Regions from separate parts of the Homo sapiens genome. Here region 2 is linked to region 1. The links are contacts of gene promoters, found by promoter capture Hi-C in blood cells and fetal thymus (Javierre and others, 2016). All regions are on one chromosome and are shown on one strand. The core of a region is centred on a gene start or on the middle of the fragment in contact, and the rest is flanking DNA. Distances in the headings are between cores, read along the strand shown.

Region 1 (4,231 bases), core at 742-3,241:
CTGCTAGGCTACAAACCTTATCGTTTTTTATTGTACTGAATACTGTCAGAGATTCTAACACAATGGTATCTAACCATAGTTAACCATAGAAAATAGACAATAAAAATAAAGTATAAAAGATTAAAAATGGTACACCTGTATAAGGCACTTACCATGAGTAGAGCTTGGAGAACTAGAAGTTACTCTATGTGTCAGTGAGTGAGTGGTGAATGGATAGGAAGGCCTAGAACATTTTTGTACACTCCTATAGATTTTATGAACACTGTACACTTAGGCTATACTAAATATGCAAAACATTTTGTTTTTTCAATAATGAAATAAATTTAGCTTACTGTAACTTTTTATTTATAAACTTTTGCTTTTTTAATTTCTTGACTCTTTTGTAATAACCCTAAGCTTAAAACAAAAAAAATTTTACAGCTGTACAAAAATGTTTTAATATCCATATCTAGAAGCTTTATTCTGTTTTTAAATTTTTTATTTTTATATTTTACCTTTAAAACATTTTTGTTAAAAGCTAAGACACAAACATACACATTAGCCTAGGCCCACACAAAGTCAGGATCATTAATATCACTGTCTTCCACCTCCACATTTTGCCCCACTGGACAGTCTTCAAGGGCACTAACATGCATGAAGCTGTCATCTATGACAGCAATGCATTCTTCTGGAATACCTTCTGAAGGACCTGCCTGAGATTCTTTTACAGTTAACTTTTTTATAAGTAGGAGTATACTCTAAAATAATGATTAAAAGTATAGTCTAGTAAATAAATGAACCAGTAACATAGTCATCTATTTTTACTATCAAGTACTATGTAATGTACATAATTGTATGTGCTATACTTTTACAACTGGCAGCTCAGTAGGTTTGTTTACACCAGCATTGCCACAAACACATGAGTAATGTGTTATGCTACAATGTCACTAGATGGTAGGAATTTTTCAGCACACACACACAAGTATATATATTATATATTATATTATATATTATATATATATGTATATATATATATATATATATAGAGAGAGAGAGAGAGAGAGAGAGAGAGAGAGATGGAGTCTTGCTCTGTCGCCCAGGCTGGGGTGCAATGACACAATCTCGGCTCACTGCAACCTGACTCCCAGGTTCAAGTGATTCTCCTGCCTCAGCCTCCTGAGTAGCTGGGACTACAGGTGCCCACCACCATGCCCAGCTAATTTTTGTATTTTTAGTAGAGACGGGGTTTCACCATGTTGGCCAGATTGGTCCCAAACTCCTGACCTCAAGTGATCCACCCCACTCAGCCTCTCAAAGTGCTGGGATTACAGGCGTGAGCCACCGTGCCTGGCCAACACCATTATAATCTTATGGGACCACTGTCATACATGTGGTTCATCATTGGCCAAAGCATCTGTATTTATATATGTATGTTTCAAATTATATATATATATATATATATATATATATATATATATATGATAGCTATACATGAACATACACACACACATATATAGACATATATAGCACATAAAATTGGCACATATTAAGCATTTTGTAAATATCAACCATTACAATTGTTACTACTTTTCTCAGCAAGGCTATGAATGCTGTTCCAGCCTGTCAAAATCACACCTGTTTAATGTGTTTTACCCAGCACGAAGTCATGTCTAGTTGAGTGGCTTAAAAATTGTGATCAAATAGCTGGTTAGTTAAAAAGTTATTTCACTGTGTAAAATACATCCCTTAAAATGCACTGTTATTTATCTCTTAGTTGTAGAAATTGGTTTCATTTTCCACTATGTTTAATTGTGACTGGATCATTATAGACCCTTTTTTTGTAGTTGTTGAGGTTTAAAGATTTAAGTTTGTTATGGATGCAAGCTTTTCAGTTGACCAATGATTATTAGCCAATTTCTGATAAAAGAAAAGGAAACCGATTGCCCCAGGGCTGCTGTTTTCATTTCCTCATTGGAAGAAGAAGCATAGTATAGAAGAAAGGCAAACACAACACATTCAACCTCTGCCACCATGGGGAACTGGGCTGTGAATGAGGGGCTCTCCATTTTTGTCATTGTAAGTACCAACAAGAGATAAGTTATAAATTCTCTGACTTCTCGGGGTTATCTTGGAACTAAAATAGACCAAAGCTTTTTTGTTCATTTGAGGAATTGTGTTGAAACTGATTTACCATGTGAACCTATATCTATCTGTAAACAGACTGAGTCCATTCTTCCAAATTCCTTAATGGAAAGAACATATCTGGGGGCTCACTTCTAGCTTACTTCTGAATTCCTAGGAGGAATAAATTAGCCAGCATTTCGCAGAAGGAGTAGAAAATATTTCATGCTAATGATCTCTGATTCTGAGTTGTTTAGTAATGTTTACTCAGACGCACATGTCTATGTGTTTATACTACTTTAAAAATGACAAATTGAAATTTTATACCATTTTCTAAATAAAAAATATAAGATTGACTCATGTATGGGAAGTAGGCCTTTATTTCAGTAATTACACTAAATATAATAAAACTTCTCAAATTTATTTTCAAAAACAAGTACCTTCTTTTTTCAGAGATCTAAACTTGAGTTATTTATAAGATTTATAAAAATTCAAAAGAACAGAATTGAAATAAGTCATCTAGATTCATAAATATGTAGTATGTATATTTATATATAATTGTATATATATATAAATCAATATAGTCTGGAGAAACTATGTAAGTAAAGATATAGCTAATTTACAAGTGGACAGAATGATTTCTGTACTTTTTAAAACAAAGAAAATCAACTGTTCTCTTAAAATGGTGTTATCAGCAAAGCAATAATGGACAAATTGGGTAGATAGAAATACGATTTTTAAATAGCCTTTCTAAATAACCAATAGAAGCATTACACAGATGTTAAAAAGTACAATTATGAATGGAATATGAATGGAGCTTTTGTAAAAATTTATCATGAAAAATAATGAGTCTTTGAGTTTTAAATATAGAAAGCAATTAGTGGCACAAATAAAAACAACAAATATTTTGTTATAAAAAATGTTTACGCCAAACCAACATTCTACTGCAACAGAGAATTCTTCCGAGTATTCGAAGCTGTAAACTTAACTTCTTATCACCATTTTTAAGGGCAAATAATTTCTATAGAAAGTAAGTTCAAATTAAACTTTTAGCTCTCGCCACAATTTTTCCCAGGAAATGACCTCCTTCTAAATTATATACTCATGCACTTGAAAGTGAAAACACAGCTTGGAAAGTCAGAGTAAAGAAAGAATGACAAGATCAGGAAATTGGGAAGTTGCTTTAGCACTTTTTTCTTTGTAAAGAGAGAATATTATCAAGTGTCTAGAGCATATAATAGCTTCAAAGCATAGTTGAGAAAAGATCACTATGGAGCTGAAGGTAGAGAACTGGGTAGTGTGACCACTTGATCCAGTCAGTGCTTAGGATAAAATGAACTGTCATGATCTAGAAAGCTGTTTTTGTTGTAAATCCCAAGCCCCTCACTATGCTCAATATTCTCTCCTTGAAGCATTAAGTAAAACTAATCAAGGAAAATGGAAGGCTTGGCATTTTAGCTGATGAGAATTCACTAGCTGGATTACTGTGTGGTAGAGGGAGGTGATTAGCACCTGTGAGAACAGAACGCAGTGTCATACTGGTGGAGGGAAAGCAATAGTAATATGTTCCCTTCCTTTCTCATTTTAAGTGGAGTGGCCTGCTATCAGCTACCTATCCAAGGTTAAGCAAAAGAGAGGGGAAAAAAAGGGAGTGGGGTAATGTAAGACTGATAATTTGGTATACTGGCCAAATCATAAAACAATCATGGGGAACAACACAGGGTGGAGAGGTTTTAATTATAGACAAGTGTAGTGACACTGTTGAGGAAAGAGCTGGCTCTAAGCTGGTTATATCCAGCTTTGTCACTACCTTTGTCAAAGTTGGACTTGGGGAAGTCCTGACCCTTATCTGACTCCAGTCTTGTGTGGAATCTACTGTGGAAATGCGGAAACTTCATGCAATTATTTCTGTTTGTGCAGCTGGTTTGGCTGGGGTTGAACGTCTTCCTCTTTGTCTGGTATTACCGGGTTTATGATATTCCACCTAAGTTCTTTTACACAAGAAAACTTCTTGGGGTAAGTATAAATTCCATCCCATGCAATATTGGCTGGTTCACATTTCTCATCAGACATTCTTGTTCATCTTCCTGTTAGCATTTTAAATACATATTCTGACCAACCCAAACAGTAC
Region 2 (4,494 bases), core at 1,199-3,698, 7.2 Mb before region 1:
ACAGATCCCGCCCCTTGAAGAACATTTTGGAGGTGTGCAAACTAAGACACCCAAAGAGGCTGGATTGAGATGGACGCAAAAACTATTAGTGGCCACACACAAATGGAGGCAATGGGATGGGACTGCCTTCCACCATCATGGGCTACAACATCTTGGAATTACAGACAGGAAAACATTTGTGATCTTGAGCCTAGCTAGCAGGGGTACAGTTTGGCTTCTACCTGTCAACATGTCTGCTTACAGAGATATAATTTTTAAGAGTTTTGAAATAGTACATCTAAAGACACATCTTATTTTAGTAAATCATTTCTCTTGAGGGGCACTGAGATTAGTCTTGCTTTTCCACTATGTGTAATTATTGCATATGCCTCCGTGAGTATTTCCACAGGCCAGATTTGGAGGAGCAGAATTACCAGATCAAAGCTATTGCCAAATTTCCTTTCAAGTAGCTTGGATCAATTTATTCTCTCACCAGCAATGTTTGAGATTGTTTTCATTGACATTCCTTAGCACATTATTTTTTTTTAATTTTCCAATCAAATGAGCTAATTTATGTTTGTCTCAAATTAGAGAGTCTTGTTAAAATCATATGTAGGTCATGTGTTATTTTTTAATGCCTGCAAAACTCAAAATCCTGTATTTCATCTCTTTACCTCTATATTATATTACCCTATAATATAAATTCTAAATCCCATAATTCCATTGTAAACTTTTTAAGACTTTCTTGGTGTGGGGGACTTGCAGGTAAATTGCTGAAAAGTGATCACTGAAAAACTTGAATATTGTTTTGTTCATGATTTAATTATGATAATGTAACCAAATCTGTATTACATGTTCCAGTTTTTTTTCAGTGAATGATGCTAGACCTTTACCTAAACAAAAAGCTTCTTTAGGAAGGACCTCCCTGTATAAAATAGCATCTGCAGTTTCCTTACTCTTATCTTTAAAAATACCTGTTCCTTAGAGCTGGAAATAATCACTTAATCACATACCTTAGATTATATCCCTATTATTTCAGCTTGTATTGAATTTATTGATGAATGCTCTAAAATATTGCTCATTAATATTTCAATTTCTGTTACAAATCATATAATTTGGGATTATCTATTCTTGTATCAAATATGAAGTGATTCTTAACAAATTAATTTCTGAAAGTATAACTTTATGGCTAAGATAATACAATCATAAATCAAAAGCCCTCTCTTCTTCATATTAATATTACCAAGTAAATAAATAATTTTTTGTTTGGTTCTGCTTAGATTCTTATGACCAAAGTTAATGGCTACTTCCAAGGACGATCTGATGTGTGAATTTTCTTAGTTCAGAAAATGTAAACTTTGGTGCAGAAATATTAGTAAATATATTTTATCATAGTTTGGATTTTTCTTTATACTCCTTCTTGATATAAATTGAAAAATTAAACCTTTTGGATCATTTTTTGAATCACTTTCAATGTATTTTGATGCAAAATGAGAGGACTAAAAAAATAAGAAACCTATCATAATAGTATTGTACTGATATAAATTTCTTTGGTGTTATAATTGTTAATCATTGTTAATCATGTTAATTATGCCAATTTCATTAACATTTACTTAATTGTAGGCATGTCAACTACAAATGCAATGCAAGATTCTTGATTGGATCCTGGATTTAAAACATAAAAAGATTCTAAAGGACATGTGGATAATTAGGAAAATTTGAATGTGTATCACATCTTAGATAATAGTATTGTGTTGATGTTATGTTTCCGTGGTGTTGTAATGTGTTATAGAAGACTGCCTTTATTTTTAGGAGATACATGCTCAAGAATTTAGGGGTGACATGTGTCCTAAAGTCAGCAACATACTTTCAAACCATTCAGGGAAAAAACTGTGCATATGTGCATGCGTGTGTGTGAATATATATATACACATATAGAGAGAGAGAAAAGGACAGGCAGAGACAGAGAAAGACAAAGCGAGAGAGAAAGTAAATGTGGCAAAAAGATACCACTGATTAATACACATGATGAAAATATGGGTGTTCGTTGTACTATTCTTTCAATTTTTATATAGATTTGAAACATTTCTAAATAAAAATTGGGAGGGGGAAAAAACCATATTTAGTTAATGAAGGCATATTTACATTGTATAATGTTTATTAAGAGCCTAGAGGGACAATATCTTATATATCTAAAATAATCACTACATATGAGATGAGAAATGTCTCAGTGACTTGATATAAATACTTCAAACATCATTTTGCTCTGAGATAATAGAATTAGTGTACTACCTTTGAATATCTCCAAAATTCCACTTATGATATGGATGTTTGACACAGACTTCAAATACTCTTCAATCCTCCAGAAGCTTCTCAAGCTCAGAAACAATCTTCTTCTCACACTGACCTATGCAAGAAATGTTATAAAATATCAATATAAATATTCTGTCCAAACCAGGTCTATATTTAAGCACAGATTCATATGCGCAAGACAAAGAATGTTTGAGCGAGTCTAAAGATAATTCAAACAAAACTCCACTCGTACATGCGCTATCTTTAATACCAAAAGGGAAGCTTTCCCCAAATCACCCAGATGAAAGTCGAAAAGCATCCTCACTATAGATCGCATTCATTTTGAATACATCCTGCCACACAGAAAAACACTATCACAAGCTTGCTGAACTGAATAATTGAGAGTCAAATCCAATTGGAAAGGACTGTGATTGTTTTCGTCTCTAAAACTGCATCACCGTAACTGAATTCAAGAGCTGTGTTGTCCCTGCAAAACCCTGCTTAGGTTTTTAGGCCTTCTTTTAAAAATGCAGAAGCTAAACCAGTGTGGCAATTAGTGAAAGAGGACTGCAAAAATAACACAATAAATATTTGCTCAGATCAGTCAAAAATTGTAGGTAAAAATATAAGTGTTTTAGAAATGCTTAGAATGTGGACACGAGGAGGTAAGGAAAGGAAGTATTGGGCTTAATTTCTCTTTATTTTTCAACTCCACTGAATGCTTGTTTAAACTCCCACTTGTCTCTGATATGGTAAGCTAGAAAAGCATTTTAGATGTCATAAGAATGGATCAGCGCTCTCGTGATAAAGGGCTAAGAAAGCGTGAGAAGACAGATGACAAAAAATAATAGCGGAGTTCTAGGGTCCTTTGCTTTCTTTTTCTTACCTTCACTAACCAATCTGCTCATCTGATCCGGCAGAAACACAGCAACTGACCAAACAGAGAGATGAACAAGCCAGCCAATGCTCTTTCCAGAAATTTTCACAAGCCTTTCACTGATGAGACCAGTAGACTGAGCTGCTCAGTGCAAAGCCATTCTTTTTATAATTGGTCCCATGGAAAAAGAGTTGTTTTTGTTCAAGTCCGATTTGTGCTAAAGAGGCAGTGGGAAGTCCCGGGAGGTGGGGAGGCAGTAACTGACAAAGCCACATCAAGCCACAGAATGGTGTTTCTTCCCCTTTTTCGAAAAATGAAACCTATCTACGAAACTGTCTCTTATTAAAATAGTTTATGGTTACACATTTTGTAAGAACCCTAGCAACAGAATTAAATTTCCTTTCTAGAAAAGTACATTATCTGGGATCCTTCACCCAAAAGAAAGCCAAAGTCACATATGACTTTAGGAAATTCTGTTTCGTTACTAATCTATAATTTTTAAGAAGTATTATTTCTCAATGGTACTTATAATTTTTAAAAATGTAAATGAAAAAAATTTTCTCGGCCGGGCGCAGTGGCTCACGCCTGTAATCCCAGCACTTTGGGAGGCCGAGGCAGGTGGATCAGGAGGTCAGGAAATCGAGACCATCCTGGCAAACACGGCGAAACCTCGTCTCTCCTAAAAATACAAAAAATTAGCCGGGCGCGGTGGCGGGCGCCTGTGGTCCCAGCTACTCGGGAGGCTGAGGCAGGAGAATGGCGTGAACCCGGGAAGTGGAGCTTGCAGTGAGCCGAGATCGCGCCACTGCACTCCAGCCTGGGCGACAGGGCGAGACTCCGTCTCAAAAGAAAAAAAAAAGAAAAAAGTTTTCCCTCTCCAAATACCGAAGGTCAAAACAATAATACATGGTGTGGGCAAAGTTGTGAAGAAACAAGCACTCTCAAACACTACTGATGAGATTGTAAACATATTTAGAGGGCAATTTCCCAGTATCTCTCAAATACAAATATTCATACCCTTTGACCCAACAATTGTATTTTTTATAAATTTGTCCAAGCTATATGTTTACACTTGTACACAAAGACTTATGTGAAAAGATATTTGTTGCAGCATTGCTTGAGAAAATAAATGACTAGAAAAAATTATATCCATAAATAAGATATTGGCCAAGTAAATGAGAACGTATGCATACTTAAAATCCTATGTAGGTTGTGTGCGGTGGCTCACGCCTGTAATCCTAGCACTTTGGGAGGCCGAGGCAGGTGGATCACTTGAGGTCAGAAGTTTGAGACCAGCCTGGCCAACATGGTGAAACCTTGTCTCTACTAAAAATACAAAACTTAGC

The links. Contacts are between HindIII fragments. The CHiCAGO score rates a contact against its expected background, and 5 or more counts as called.
Region 2: a contact is called between a fragment that was not itself captured here and the fragment with the promoter of CYBB in region 1, in 1 of 17 cell types (total B cells). The highest score is 6.7, in total B cells.

What each region holds. Positions count from the first base shown.
Region 1 is chrX:37,778,068-37,782,298 of GRCh38, forward strand. CYBB (cytochrome b-245 beta chain) reads left to right here and starts at 1,992. Exons shown (of 13, transcript NM_000397.4): 1 at 1,992-2,055; 2 at 4,021-4,116. The coding sequence starts at 2,011. RefSeq lists an enhancer at 2,034-2,083. The HindIII fragment of the contact is 266 bases long and covers 1,862-2,127 here.
Region 2 is chrX:30,574,481-30,578,974 of GRCh38, forward strand. TASL (TLR adaptor interacting with endolysosomal SLC15A4) reads right to left here and starts at 3,286. Exons shown (of 3, transcript NM_025159.3): 1 at 3,158-3,286; 2 at 2,272-2,386. RefSeq lists an enhancer at 3,308-3,517. The HindIII fragment of the contact is 205 bases long and covers 2,347-2,551 here.